3 separate regions of the Homo sapiens genome follow, and regions 1 and 3 are each linked to region 2. The links are contacts of gene promoters, found by promoter capture Hi-C in human tissues and cell types (Jung and others, 2019). All regions are on one chromosome and are shown on one strand. Each heading gives the region's core, a stretch centred on a gene start or on the middle of the fragment in contact. The rest is flanking DNA. Distances are from core to core; before and after follow the strand shown. Region 1 overlaps SAE1 (SUMO1 activating enzyme subunit 1). Region 2 holds the start of TMEM160 (transmembrane protein 160). Region 3 overlaps SAE1 (SUMO1 activating enzyme subunit 1).

What was found. The method cuts DNA at HindIII sites, captures the fragments that hold promoters and counts their contacts. A contact is called where the count stands out against the background at its distance.
Region 1: a fragment that was not itself captured here is called in contact with the fragment with the promoter of TMEM160 in region 2 in 1 of the 25 tissues and cell types used here (bladder).
Region 3: a fragment that was not itself captured here is called in contact with the fragment with the promoter of TMEM160 in region 2 in 3 of the 25 tissues and cell types used here (aorta, liver and mesenchymal stem cells).

The regions. Positions count from the first base shown.
Region 1 is chr19:47,189,029-47,193,886 of GRCh38, reverse strand. The region is part of intron 6 of SAE1 (SUMO1 activating enzyme subunit 1); the gene reads right to left. Among named protein-coding and RNA genes, the nearest start is that of MIR3190, 35 kb to the left of the region's middle. RefSeq lists an enhancer at 4,031-4,797. The HindIII fragment of the contact is 3,517 bases long and covers 1-3,186 here.
Region 2 is chr19:47,046,876-47,051,360 of GRCh38, reverse strand. It overlaps TMEM160 (transmembrane protein 160), which reads left to right and starts at 2,737. Exons shown (of 3, transcript NM_017854.2): 1 at 2,737-2,954. The coding sequence starts at 2,747. RefSeq lists enhancers at 1,277-1,794, 1,795-2,312, 2,436-2,730, 3,240-3,309 and a silencer at 2,770-2,959. The HindIII fragment of the contact is 17,900 bases long and covers 1-4,485 here.
Region 3 is chr19:47,208,104-47,213,035 of GRCh38, reverse strand. SAE1 (SUMO1 activating enzyme subunit 1) reads right to left here. Exons shown (of 9, transcript NM_005500.3): 9 at 2,400-3,877. The coding sequence ends at 3,785. Among named protein-coding and RNA genes, the nearest start is that of MIR3190, 16 kb to the left of the region's middle. RefSeq lists enhancers at 2,010-2,304, 3,296-4,045. The HindIII fragment of the contact is 3,338 bases long and covers 1,373-4,710 here.

The sequences.
Region 1 (4,858 bases), core at 179-2,678, 140 kb before region 2:
TGCATATCAGAGAAGAGGTAATTTCTTTTTCTTTTTCTTTTCTTTCTTTTTTTTTTTTTTTGAGACAATCTTGCTCTGTTGCCCAGGCTGGAGTGCAATGGCGTGATCTCGGCTCAATGCAACCTCCACCTCCCGGGTTCAAGCCATTCTCCTGCCTCAACCTGCCAAGTAACTGGGGATTACAGGTGCCTGCAGCCACACCCAGCTAATTTTTTGTATTTTTAGTAGAGATGGGGTTTCACTAAAAATAGAAAAATTCCTGGTCTCAAGTTCCTGACCTCAGGTGATCCTCCCACCTTGGCCCCCCAAAGTGCTGGAATTACAGGCGTGAGCCACAGCACCCAGCTGGTAATTTCTTTAAAAAAAAAAAGGAAAGAAAAGAAAAAAGCTCCAGAACACCCATTGACTCTTCTGAATACTGTTTGCTTTCTGAGAATGTTACTCTCTTCTCTTTTTCAAGAACACAGCTTCTGCAACCCTCAATGCTACCTCAACACTTGGCAGTCAACTCAAAGCTGTAACAATTGGCCAGGTGTGGTGGCTCATGCCTGTAATCCCAGCACTTTCAGAGGCTGAGGCAGGTGGATCACCTGAGGTCAGGAGTTCAAGACCAGCCTGGCCAACACAGCGAAACCCCATCTCTACTAAAAATACCAAAAAAATTAGCCGTGCATGGTGGTGGGTGCCTGTAATCTCAGCTACTCGGGAGGCTGAGGCAGGAGAATCTCTTGAACCCGGGAGGTGGAGGTTGCAGTGAGCCGAGATTGTGCCACTGCACTCCAGCCTGGGCGACAGAGCAAGACTCTGTCTCCAAAAAAAAAAAAAAAAAGGCTGTGACCATCTAGACGATCTGGATGCCAGAGAGCACTGATCTGCTACCACCCAATACTTCTACTTTTGTAGATGTCCTGCTGGTATTCCGATTGTAGTAAATAAATGCAACTGAGTAACCATTTTGGGGCAGGGTAGAGAAATGACTGCAGAAGTGGCAAGTACTGCCTGTTTGGACCAAGCCTCTTTTCAAAAAATGTCCCATAAAATAAAGGAGGCCAGGTGCAGTGGCTCACACCTGTAACCCCAGCACTTTGGGAGGCTAAGGTGGGCAGATCACTTGAGGTCAGGAGTTTGAGACCAGCCTGGCCAACATGGTGAAACCCCATCTCTACTAAAAATAGGAAAATTAGCCGAAAGTGTGGTGGGTGCCTATAATCAAGTACTTGGGAGGCTGAGGCAGTAGAATTGCTTGAACCCAGGATTCAGAGGTTGCGGTGAGCCGAAATCACACCGCTGCACTCCAGTCTGGGCTACAGAGAGAGGCTGTCTCAAAAAATAAATTAAGTAGCCGGGCATGGTGGCTGATGCCTGTAATCCCAGCACTTTGGGAGGCCAAGGCGGGTGGATCACGAGGTCAGGGGTTCAAGACCAGCCTGGCCAAGATGATAAAACCCCATCTCTATTAAAAATACAAAAATTAGCTGGGCATGGTGGCGGACGCTTTTAATCCCAGCTACTCGGGAGCCTGAGGCAGGAGTCGCTCAAACCCAGGAGGCAGAGGTTGCAGTGAGCCGGTATCGTGCCACTGCAATCTAGCCTGGGTGACAGAGCGAGACTCTGTCTCAAAACAACAACGACGACAACAACAACAACAACAAACCAGTAGGAAGGGTGATAATAATTACCCGCTCACCAGGTTATCGTGAAGATCACATGAGTGCTAAGCCATGTGAAATGTTTAGTATAGTGCCTGACACATAGTAGGCACTATAACGCTTTGGGCTTTGGTGCTCCCAAAGCTATATTTTCTTTCTCTCTCTTTTTTCTTTTTTTTTTTTTGAGACAGAGTCTCGCTCTGTTGCCCAGGCTGGAGTGCGGTGGCGCGATCTCGGCTCACTGCAAGCTCCGCCTCCCGGGTTCACGCCATTCTCCTGCCTCAGCCTCCCGAGTAGCTGGGACTACAGGCGGCCATCACCACGCCCGGCTAATTTTTGTATTTTTAGTATAGACGGGGTTTCACCGTGTTAGCCAGGATGGTCTCGATCTCCTGACCTTGTGATCGGCCCGCCTTGGCCTCCCAAAGTGCTGGGATTACAGGTGTGAGCCACCGCGCCCGGCCTATTCCCACAGCTATGTTTTCAAACCAAAAGATGAAAAGCTTTGTGGTAACAGCTGAAAAAAAAAATCACCTCCTCTTGTTGGTCCCTTGTGACAGTTGGTGCTTGTGTCCCAGTAACAAAGAAATAAGATCGCACAAGAGTCATCTAGCACAGGGTTCCTGCCACTGTCCATCACCTTGCACCTGGAAAGCAGGCAGCCTCAGTTTCCACGTGACTGCTGCAAGGCCTCAGACTGTGCCCTATAAGCAGCCCATGCACAGCTTTGCCTCCATCTGCTCAGGCAGTGTTGATACCCTTTCTGGGTCTTGTTGCCCTGTTCTCTCAGGAGTGACTGACAGGACTAGCGTTTAACATTTGATGCAATATCCTCTGCTTTGGCTATACTAACAGATGGCTGGATTCCTTTATTTTTATTCATTTATTTACTTGTTTTTGTTTTTCTTCTTTTTTTTTGAGATGGAGTCTCACTCTGTCACCCAGGCTGGAGACGCCCACAACCACGCCCAAATAACTTTTGTATTTTTACTAGTGACGGGGCTTCACTATGTTGGCCAGGCTGGTCTCGAACTTCTGACCTTAAGTGATCCTCCTGCCTCAGCCTCCCAAAGTGCTGGGATTATAGGCATGACCCACTACGCCCAACCTACCCATCCTACTTTACAGATCAGGAAACTGAAGTTCAGAAACATTAAATGACTTGGTCACTGTAACTCCCAAGTACTGGAGCAGAAATGTAAACTCAAATCTAGCTTCAGAATTTGTGCTTCTTAACCCTAATGGAATCCAAAAGAAACAGCAGGTCCATACAGGGACACAGCACCTAGGATTCCAAGTGGTCTGGTTCTTTGCCACCCACCTCAGGGGATCCCCCATTTGATCAAGTTTTTGTCAAATGCATTTTTCCAGATGGGCCTCGCCTCTGTTAATTTCAAGCTGTAAGTTCAGTGGGTGAGAAGTGGAGACCGTGGTCATATAAAACTTTGCCCATCAATCTTGAGAGAGTAAACCAGCTTCCTCTTAGGAAGAAATAGGACAGCATTAAGAGCAGGAGCAAAGGCGGCAGCAGCTGACCCCGCTGTTTCTCTGGGACCCTTGCCTGTTCCTGGTGCAGTTTGGCTGGACGAGGGCCGGCAGGCTGGCACCATCCACATACCTCGCTGACCACATCTGAAGTCCTTGCAGGGCCTCTGGGAAGGGGGCCAATCAGTCCAGCCACTTACTTGCAGCAAAACAAACAGAAGCTGTCTTTTTTCACTCTTTCTCGAAGGTCAGACTCCAGTTAGCAGCAGTGGAGGGGGGCAGGAAGAAAGCCATGTTCTTGACAGGCAGCAGCCTCAGAACTGACCCTAGCCCCTGACAAGTTCTCGCTTATTAAATTCTCCTTTGTTCTGCTTTCCGCCCCGCCCCAAGAGCCAAACACGCACACATACCACTGTTGACTGCATTTCTGAAGAGCACCTCCCACCAGTTTACACATTATAAAACTGTTCCGTTAAGATCAAACACTGTCAGGGATAGAGAGGTGCTCTACCAAAAGATGACTCATCAAATCGTATCAAAACACTGCACAAAATTAGAGTTCCAAACTTGATTAACTTCATCTGCACCTTTTAATTAACTCAGGATGCTGAAGTCTGGGGGGATGACATTCATTGCTGGAGATGATGGACTAGTGTCTCGGCTTAGGTTCAGGACTTGCCCATGTAATGGAAAAGGCAAACTTTGGAAAAGAGAAACCAAGCACGGTTTCACGTTATTTATAGAAAAAACTGTGGATATGTGAATATACAACCACCTTTACAAAATAATGTAAGCACTCAAATTCAAATTTAATCTCAGTTCATAACATCAGGTTAGCGCTATAACGGGAATCTGGACAGCAACATTATTAATCACTGTTTGTTACATAAACTTCTATTACATTTAACTATTATGCCTAAATCTAATCACCAAGGCCACCGAATAAACCAGTACTTTAGTAGGAAGAAAATAAAGTCACTGTCACAAATTAGCCCCTAATTGCTGGCCCCCAAAAACAGTTCAATTGTGGGGGGCAGGGGAGTTGAATCTATATCAAAACTTCATTTACCTGAGACAGGCCCAAAGCTTTTCTGTGCCAGACACCTCGGCCCCAATTCCCTGGCTCCCTGCAGCTGAACGTAGACTCCTCCCCAGGGTTGGCTCACTTTTGTTTTTTTTGTTTGTTCGTTTTAAGACAGAGTCTCGCTCTGTCACCCAGGCTGGAGTGCAGTGGCGCGATCTTTGCTCACTGCAACCTCCGCCTCCCAGGTGCAAGCGATTCTACTGCCTCAGCCTCCTGAGTAGCTGGGATTACAGGCACGCACCACTACGCCCGGCTCATTTATATACATATTTTTTAGTAGAGATGGGGTTTCACCATGTTGGTCAGGCTGGTCTCAAATTCCTGACCTCGTGATCCGCCTGCCTCAGCCTCCCAAAGCGCTGGGGTTACAGGCGTGAGCCACTGCGCCCAGCCCCCAGGTTGGCTCACTTTATGGAGAGTCGCTATCTCTGGAAACAGCCTGGTAATCTGCTCCACTCCCAGGTGACATAAATTTCCAGAAAAATTGCAAAGTATGGTAGTACTACCTCTTATCCAACAGCCTGTTTCCTAAGGCAAAGCCCTGGGCCTGACATTCAGTCAATTGTTCATTCAATAAATATACACTGAGCAATGACTGTGCCAGGTGCTGGGCTGGGCAGGCGAGGGCAGAATGGATGGT
Region 2 (4,485 bases), core at 1,488-3,987:
TTGCCCCCACCCAGGACTGGCAAATTAGCTTTACTCAACATGCCCCGAGTCAGGAAACCAAAATACCTCTTAGTCTAGGCAGACACTTTCACTGGATAGGTACAGGCCTTTTCTACAAGGTCTGAGAAGGCCACCGCAGTCATTTCTTCCCTTCTGTCAGACATAATTCCTCAGTTTAGCCTTCCCACCTCTATACAGTCTGATAACAGACCAGCCTTTATTAGTCAAATCAGCCAAGCAGTTTTTCAGGCTCTTAGTATTCAGTGAAACCTTTATATCCCTTACGGTCCTCTGTCTTCAAGAAAAGTAGAACGGACTAAAGGTCTTTTAAAAACACACCTCACCAAGCTCAGCCACCAACTTAAAAAGGACTGGACAATACTTTTACCTCTTTTGCTTCTCAGAATGCTGCAGGGTACAGCCTATTTGAGCTCCTGTATGGACAATCCTTTTTATTAGGCCCCAGTCTCATTCCAGACACCGGACCAACTTAGACTGTGCCCCAAAAAAACTTGTCATCCCTACTATTTTCTGTCTAGTCATACTCCTATTCTCCGTTCTCAACTACTCATACGTGCCCTGCTCTTGTTTACACTGCTGGTTTACACTGTTTCTCCAAGCCATCACAGCTGATATCTCCTCATGCTATCCCCAAACTGCCACTCTTAACTCCTGAAGTAAACAAATAATCTTTGCTGGCAGGACTATGCTGAATCTCCTTAGGCACTCTCTAATCAGATGTCCTAGGTCCTCCCAATTCTTAGACCTTTTATACCTGTTTTTCTCCTTCTCTTATTCCATTTAGTTTTTCAATTCATACAAAACTGTACCCAGGCCATCACCAATACTTCTACACAACAAATGTTTCTTCTAACAACCCCACAATATCACCCCTTACCACAAAATCTTCCTTCAGCTTAATCTCTCCCACTTTAGGTTCGCACGCCGCCCCTAATCCTGCTTGAAGCAGCCCCGAGAAACATCGCCCATTCTCTCTCCATACCACCCCCCAAGACTTCAACACTATTTTGTTTTATTTTTCTTATTAATAAAAGAAGGCAGAAATGTCAGGCCTCTGAGCCCAAGCCAAGCCATCGCATCACCTGTGACTTGCACGTATACATCCAGATGGCCTGAAGTAACTGAAGATCCACAAAAGAAGTAAAAATAGCCTTAACTGATGACATTCCACCATTGTGATTTGTTCCTGCCCCACCTAACTGATCAATGTACTTTGTAATCTCCCCCACCCTTAAGAAGGTTCTTTGTAATTCTCCCCACCCTTGAGAATGTACTGTGTGAGATCCACCCCTGCCCGCAAAACATTGCTCTTAACTTCACCGCCTATCCCAAAACCTCTAAGAACTAATGATAATCCACCACCCTTTGCTGACTCTCTTTTCGGACTCAGCCTGCCTGCAGCCAGGTGAAATAAACAGCCATCTTGCTCACACAAAGCCTGTTTGGTGGTCTCTTCACATGGACGCGCATGAAACGATTCTCCTGCCTCAGCCTCACAAGTAGCTGGGATTACAGGTGCCTGCCACCATGCCTAATTTTTGTATTTTTAGTAGAGATGGGGTTTCACCATGTTGGTCAGGCTGGTCTCGAACTCCTGATCTCGTGATCTGCCCGCCTCAGACTCCCAAAGTGGTGGGATTACAGATGTGAGCCACCGTGCCTGGCCCGGGCTTGGATTTTATGAAGAGGAAAAGTAGGGGAGCTAGCAAGGGGGTTACACTTGAGGAGGGAGTTCAAATGGACTGCACTGCATAGCCTGCAGGCTTGCAATGAATGTGAAGCTTTAAATGGGATTAAGTGCAAATTGAAAATATTCCAGACACATTTTTCACATTCCTGGCTAGTGAAAAGGTTTATGCTGATGAGAGAAGGCAAAGCTGAATCCCGGAATGGGTTAGGGCAAAGAAAACAAATCTGTCTTAAAGAGACAGACCTGGCCGGGCACGGTGGCTCACGCCTGTAATCCCAGCACTTTTGGAGGCCGAGGCGGTTGGATCACTTGAGGTCAGGAGTTCGAGACCAGCCTGGCCAACATGGTGAAACCCTGTCTCTACTAAAGATACAAAAATTAGCTGGGCGTGGTGGCGCATGCCTATAATCCCAGCTACTCAGGAGGCTGACGCAGGAGAATCGCTTGAACCCGGGAGGTGGAGGTTGCAGTGAGCCGAGATCGCACCACTGCACTCCAGCCTGGGCGACAGAGCAAGACTCGGTCTCGGGGCGGGGAAAAAAAAGGAAGGAGGGAAGGAAGGAAGGAGGGGAGGGAAGGGAGGGAGGGAGGGAAAAAGAAAGAGAGAAAGAAAGAAAGAAGGAAAGAAAGAAAGAGAAAGAAAGAAAAAGAAAGAAAGAAAGAAAGAGAAAGAAAGAAAGAGAAACAACCAAGAAACAACTACAATAGGTGCTCGGCATGTACTCCGTTAAAAAAGATAGAATTAAAACTACAATTCCCAGCAGACATCTCGCCTGCGACTTCTGAATATCGGCTTTCCCCGAGCGCAATGATCGCTGGGATTCGTAGTCCGGTACAAAATCAAGGAGGGACGGGCACTACCGGCCTAGATGACAGAGGAGGGAATCACTGCCATTCCGACCAATGGACAGTTCACGCCGGACCTGAGTGGCGAGCGCATAGCCAATGGGTAAGCCATTCATCCTGAGTGACATGGGTTGCAACCTACCGGAGGCCGGTGGGGCGGTACGGCGCGCGGCGGCCGTAGTGCGAATCATGGGAGGCGGCTGGTGGTGGGCTCGGGCCGCTCGCCTTGCCCGTCTTCGCTTCCGGAGGTCGCTACTGCCGCCTCAGCGGCCCCGGAGCGGGGGCGCCCGGGGGTCCTTCGCCCCCGGCCACGGTCCCCGCGCCGGGGCTTCGCCGCCCCCAGTGTCCGAGCTGGATCGTGCGGACGCCTGGCTCCTCCGAAAAGCGCACGAGACAGGTCGGTGGCTAGGGGTGGGGGCGGTGCGGATGGGACGGGGGTCCCGGGCTCGCGTGGGACCTTGATGGGGCGGGGGCTTCTGCAGGAAACGGGGCCCGGGCTCGGCTCCGAGAAGGGCTTCAGTGTGAGCGCACGGAAGCGCAGACTGCAAGAGCGCAGGTGCCCGCAGAGGGGATGGGCTTGCGGGGAGGACGAGGACCCCGGGTAACGGGGCGCCGTAGGGATTGGAGGGGGTGGTAGGGTTGCGCGAGGCAGCCTCGTAGAATCGCGCCTGCCGTGGGGAGAGGGGCTTCAGGGAGAGCTTAGGGTCTGTGGAGTTGGGTACAAGATGGGTCCATCCCGATTGCAGAGGCCACCACTGTGCAGAGAGCGGGAGTGTGGATCCCCGCAGAAGAGGGGGAAGTTCAGGATTGGAGAAGGGGACAACCAATCGGGAGAAAGCTCTCTGCTGATTGGAGGGGGAGGTGATCTAGGCTGCAGAGGGCGGGGCTTGTGACGGAGGCGAGGTCCAGAATGGAGCGGACTGGCCATGTTTGTTTTTTTTTTAATTTTATTTTTTTAATGACGGTGTCTTGCTCTGTCACCGAGGCTGGACCGCAGTGGCGCAATCGTAGCCCACTGCAGCCTTGAACTCCTGGGCTCAAGCTATCCTCTTGCCTCAGCCTCCTGCTTAGCTGGAGCTACAGGCATACACCACCGCACCCAACTATTTTAATTTATGTAGAGACGGGGTCTTGCTTTGTTGCCCAGGCTGGTCTGAACTCTTGGGCTCAGAGAATCCTCCTGCCTTGGCTTCCCAAAGTGCTGGGATTATAGGTGTGAGTCACCTCACTAGGCCAGGACCGGGCATCTAGATATAGGGTGTGGTGGGCTGTTTGTAAAGGACGTGAATGGGGACGGACGTGGGTGGGATTGGCCCAGGCCATACTCGGTAGGACATGGATGGGATTGGCCCAGGCCATACTCGGTAGGAGATGGCGGCATTTGAAGGAAAAGAAGGGCGAGGCTGAAGAGCGGCCTGGATTAGGAAACAGTTTGTCCCAGAGTTCTGAGAAAGAAGTGAGTGGGCAGGCCGTGGGGGTACACGTAGAGGGAGGGGTTTGGCCAAGATGACTCCTCAGATGGAGGTTCTGCAACTTTGCCCCTAGATTGTCCTCCACATTCTGCAGGGACTATCTTGAATCCTTTATTTTTTTTGAGACGGAGTCTCACTCTGTCGCCCAGGCTGGAGTGCAGTGGCATGATCTTGGCTCGCTGCAACCTCTACCTCCTGGATTCAAGTGATTCTCCTCCCTCAGCTTCCTGAGTAGCTGGGACTACAAGCACGTGCTACCACACCCTGCTAATTTTAACATTTTTAGTAGAGACAGGGTTTGACTATGTTGGCCAGGCTGGTCTCAAACTCCTGACCTCATGATCCGCCTGCCTTGGCCTCCCAAAGTGCTGGGATTACAGGGGTGAGCCACCACACCCGGCCCTTGAATCCTTAGTGTTACAGAGTTTGGGGGAGAGGGGCACTGAGGTGGAGGCC
Region 3 (4,932 bases), core at 1,792-4,291, 160 kb before region 2:
TCTACCCATTTTAGGGATGGGGTAACAGAAAGTAGTGTAGCGAGGGTCACATGGCTGAGTGGTAGAGTCTAGGTTTGAACATGGCAGTCTGGAAGGATTCACTCTCAACAGTTAACAGGGGTGACCTCCGGGGAGTGGATATGAAAGTGGATAAAGCTAGGCTGGGCGCTGTGGCTTACACCTATAATCCCAGCATTTTGGGTGCTGAGGCAGGTGGATTACTTCAGGTCAGGAGTTCGAGAGCAGCCAGGCCAACATGGTGAAACCCTGTCTACTAAAAGTACAAAAATTAGCTGGGCATGGTGGCCGGGGCCTGTAATCCCAGCTACTTGGGAGGCTGAGGCAGGAGAATTGCTTGAAACCAGGAGGTGGAGGTTGCAGTGAGCCGAGATCACACCACTGCACTCTAGCCTGGGTGACAGAGCAAGACTCCGTCTATTAAAAAAAAAAAAAAGAAAAAAGAAAAAGAAAAAAAGAAAGTGGATACAGCTAACATGTCCAAAAAGCATCTCATATTTCTCTCCAAAATGCAGTTTAGCTGTGAAGTCAGCTGCTCTTATTATGTGGCCAACATTGTGCTGACAGGCTGTGCCCTGCAGCGGAGAGGAATCTTCTCTTTATGCTTGTATATTGCTTGAATATCGTACAAGCTTAGGAACCAAATCCACCCACCCTTTTGGACCTAGTTGAAGGCCCTCTTTTATGAAGGCCGACATGATGTTTTCCAGTGACTACTGGGTCTCAGGGACTTGTGAAGGGAAGCCCAAAATCTTGTTCTCACTGAGCGAACAAGCCGTGCCACTACATGAATCTCTACTGAGTGCCCCGCACCGCAGCTTTCCCAGTCAGCGCCATTTCCATCTCTCCCTTGCTTGTGAGGTGAGCCTGTTTCCTTATCTCCAGTATGGGTAGGAGAACAGCATCTATCCCCATGGGGTTGCTGTGGGGATTCCAACTCAAAGAACAAGGATTCTGAAAAGTACCAGGCAGGTTGCATGGGTATAATGACCATTGGTTGTTATCATTAAACTTACCACCTGCAACCTAAGCCATCTCTTCCACACCTGTAATGAGCTAATAGAACATACGTCAAGATAACTTTTTTTTTTTTTTTTGAGATGGAGTCTCGCTCTGTTGCCCAGGCTGGACTGCAGTGGCACGATCTCGGCTCACTGCAACCTCCGCCTCCCAGGTGCAAGCGATTCTCCTGCCTCAGCCTCCTGAGTAGCTGGATTACAGCCACGCGCCACCATGCCCAGCTAGTTTTTGTATTTTTTTTTTTTAGTAGAGACGGGGTTTCACTATGTTGGTCAGGCTGGTGTTGAACTCCTGACCTCGCGATCCGCCCGCCTCGGCCTCCCAAAGTGCTGGGATTTTTTTTTCGAGACAGTGTCTCACTCTTTCACCCAGGCTTCAGTGCAGTGGTGAAATCCAGGTCATTTCAGCCTCAAACTCCTGGGCTCAAGTGATCCTCCTGCCCCAGTCTCCCAAGCAGCTGTGACCACAGGCACAAGCCACTATGCTCAGCTATTTCTTTTTTTGTGGAGATGGGGTCTTGCTTTGTTTCCCAAGTTGGTCACGAACTCTTGGGCTGAAGTGCTTCTCCCGCCACAGCCTCCCACCATGCCTGACTGACTGCAGATTTTGAGATGGAGTGTCACACTGTTACCCGGGCTGGAGTGCAGTGGTGCGACCTCAGCTCATTGCGACCTCCGCCTCCCAGGTTCAAGTGATTCTCCTGTCTCAGCCTCCCCCAGTAGCTGAGATTACAGGCACCCGCCACCATGCCCGGCTAATTTTTGTAATTTTAGTAGACAGGGTTTCACCACGTTGGCCTGGCTGCTCTCAAACTCCTGACCTCGTGATTCGTCCGCCTCAGCCTCCCAAAATGTTGGGATTACAGGCGTGAGCCACCACGCCTGGCCTTTTTTTCTTCATTTTTATGATTAATACAAACATCATGTGGCAGTTTATGAAATTTGTAGAAACTAGACATTTCTTGCCTGGGGCTGGCAGCTTTCCCCTCGATTCCTGAGGGGTCCTCTGGGTGACTTAATCTCTGCCGTTAGAGGTACAGGGTGGAAAAGTTTGAAGCTTCCGGGACGATTCTACAATTTTGTTTTTATCAATCCAGACCCACCTGCTCCCCCTTGTGACCAAGGCTGCACATTACAGTCAAGAGTATAATTAGCTCAGAATTTAAAGACCACGTGAAATTCATGCAGCAATGTAACTGCTGACCCTGACGCCACTGACTTGCACTAAAGGTGGCGAGACACGGATCCTTTCCGAAATGCAGCCCCTGTCTCACCTCCGGCGGGAGCAGGTGATGCAGGGTTGAGGAACAGAGGCCCTTCTGTAGTGAAGACCACTTTTCTCCCCGACTAACTGCTGCAGGATCAGAATAGGAAAGAGACTGATTTATTGAAACATCACACAATTTACATAAAGAAGAAACACAAGCAAGAGTGGGGTGAACTGGAACGCACTTTGGCTGCATCAAGGCAAACCTGGTCTTCCAATAAAAGCTCTGACCCGTAGCGGCTGTGGCACTTGGGGCATATGAAGCATCACTTTTGACTTCCCTTTATTATTATAATTCTTGCCACTGAAAATAGCCACTATTTAGCTGAATTATCCATTAGACAACTGGAGCCAGAAGCTTCTACACATTCTAGAATGTGAACAATTTAACTCTTGCTGCATCACCCAGAAAAAATGGTGGCAGGAATGGTGAGGGAGAGGAGGAATCTCTTGAGTTAGAGCCTCAGGTCTGAAAAGGCAACTGGTAGGATCATCCCATTCCCTCTCAGAAGCTTCTGAAGTGGAAGAAAAACAAGCAAATCCTAAAGCAAGTAACTTTATTATCATTCCTTTAAAAAGAACCAAGGAAAATTCACAACATATGTGAAACACAAACAGCTGTGGTTTAGGAGGTAAACAAAGGACCAACATAGCCCTGAAATGCAACAGCCTCTGAGTGACTTGAGCCGCATGTGACTGGGGTTCTGTTAAAAGGGCAGGCTCCTCCCTCCTAGCCCTGAAGCCCCAGGAACCTGCCTTGAAAGACAAGCTCTCTAATACTCAACTTGCAGGGTCTCGCCCTAACATCCAAGACTTGGTAGCATCTCCTTTCTCCCAAAACCCAGCTGGAACTCAACTAATCCTAAACGAAAACTCAAGAACAGCACACCAGATGCCACCTGTTGTTTGTCAGGGTCTCAAACTCCAGAGGAAATGCATTTGCCTGTCATGGTTTTCCTCTCTAAGGGCACCTGTCTGAACTTGGAGCTGTGCTTCCACTGGTGCCTCATGGGGCCTGGGCCTACTCTCCACCTGAATTCACACTTTTCTCTATAAGGTATCAGGTGGGGAATAAGTCCAAGAAGGTGACAAGAGGCTCCCGAGCAACAGAGCTTGCTCATTCCTGGCAGGCATCTCCCACAATGCCCCAGAGGGCTGGCGAGGCCGGGACAGCATAAGGACAGAGAAAGGGCAGAGGGGTGCTTGGAAGTGCTCATCACTCAGGGGAGCTGGCAGGCCCGGGATGACAGGCAGCCTGAACAGTGCTGGAACAAAGACAGCCACCCTGCGCCCCTTGTCGAGCAGCTGCTGGTGATGGGAAGCAGCACGTCGGCACCACCTCCTTCGTTGCAGGAAATGTTTTGTATCGGGCCAATGACTTCAGTTTTCCTTGCCTGGAGATGCCTTCATGAAGGAAGGGGACAGGGAATACAGGTGGGCATGCTGCAGTTGGCATCTCTGGGGCTGCCAAATCTTGAGTTCACTTGGGGCCAAGGCACTCCACAATCCCATTCCCCTTCATGCCATCGAAGAAGAAGAAGTTGTTGTGAGGAGGGTCCCGCTGAGACAGGGCCTGGGGAGAAAAATGAAAAGAGGGTTTAGCTCAAGTGCTTTAAGAGGAATAGAGGGAAAAAAAAATTCTAAAAGCAGTCTAGGGCAGTGGTTCTTAACTGGGGTCGATTTTGCTCCCAAAGGGCTATTTGGCAATGTCTGGAGACAATTTTGATTGTCCTATCTCCTTGCTCTGTCCCTTACAAGCTGTGTGTCCATGGGGAGATTATTTAACCTCTCCAAACATTACCTTATTTTCCTAACATGAGATTAAGAAATGTATTTGCCTGGGTTAAACTATGTATCTCAAAAATGTAAAACAGGCCAGGGCCAGGCACATTCACACCTGTAATCCCAGCACTTTGGGAGGCTGAGGTGGGAGAATCACTTGAGCCCAGGAATTCAAGACCAGTCTGTGCAACATGGTGAGATCCCGTCTATATGAAAACTAAAATAGGTGGGGCGCAGTGGCTCACGCCTGTAATCCCAGCACTCTGGGAGGCTGAAGTGGGCGGATCACCTGAGGTTGGGAGTTGGAGACCAGCCTGGCCAACACGGTGAAACCTGTCTCTACTAAAAATACAGAAATTAGCCGAGTATGGTGGCATGCTACTCGGGAGGCTGAGGCAGGAGAATTGCTTGAACCCAGGAGGCAGAGGTTGCAGTAAACTGAGATTGCGCCACCGCACTCCAGCCTGGGCGACACAGTGAGACTCTGTCTCAAAAAAAAAGAGAAAAAGAAAAATGACATAAATTAGCCAGGTATGGTGATGCATGCCCAAGGTGCCAGCTACTCGGGAGGCTGAGGTGGGAGGATCGCTTGAGCCTGGGACATTGAGGCTGCAGTGAGCTGTAATAGTGCCACTATACTCCAGCCTGGGGAACAGAGTGAGACCCTGTCTCAAAACAAAAAACAAACAAACAAAAAAACACCTTAAAACTAAAACAATGACTAACACTGTGTTGCACCACCATTGGGCAAACAGCAGAAATAATTATTCATGACTATTCAACTGAGAAAGGTGGCAGTTCTTAGGCTGTGGCCTTTATCACCTAAGGGGACACATTTAATCAAGG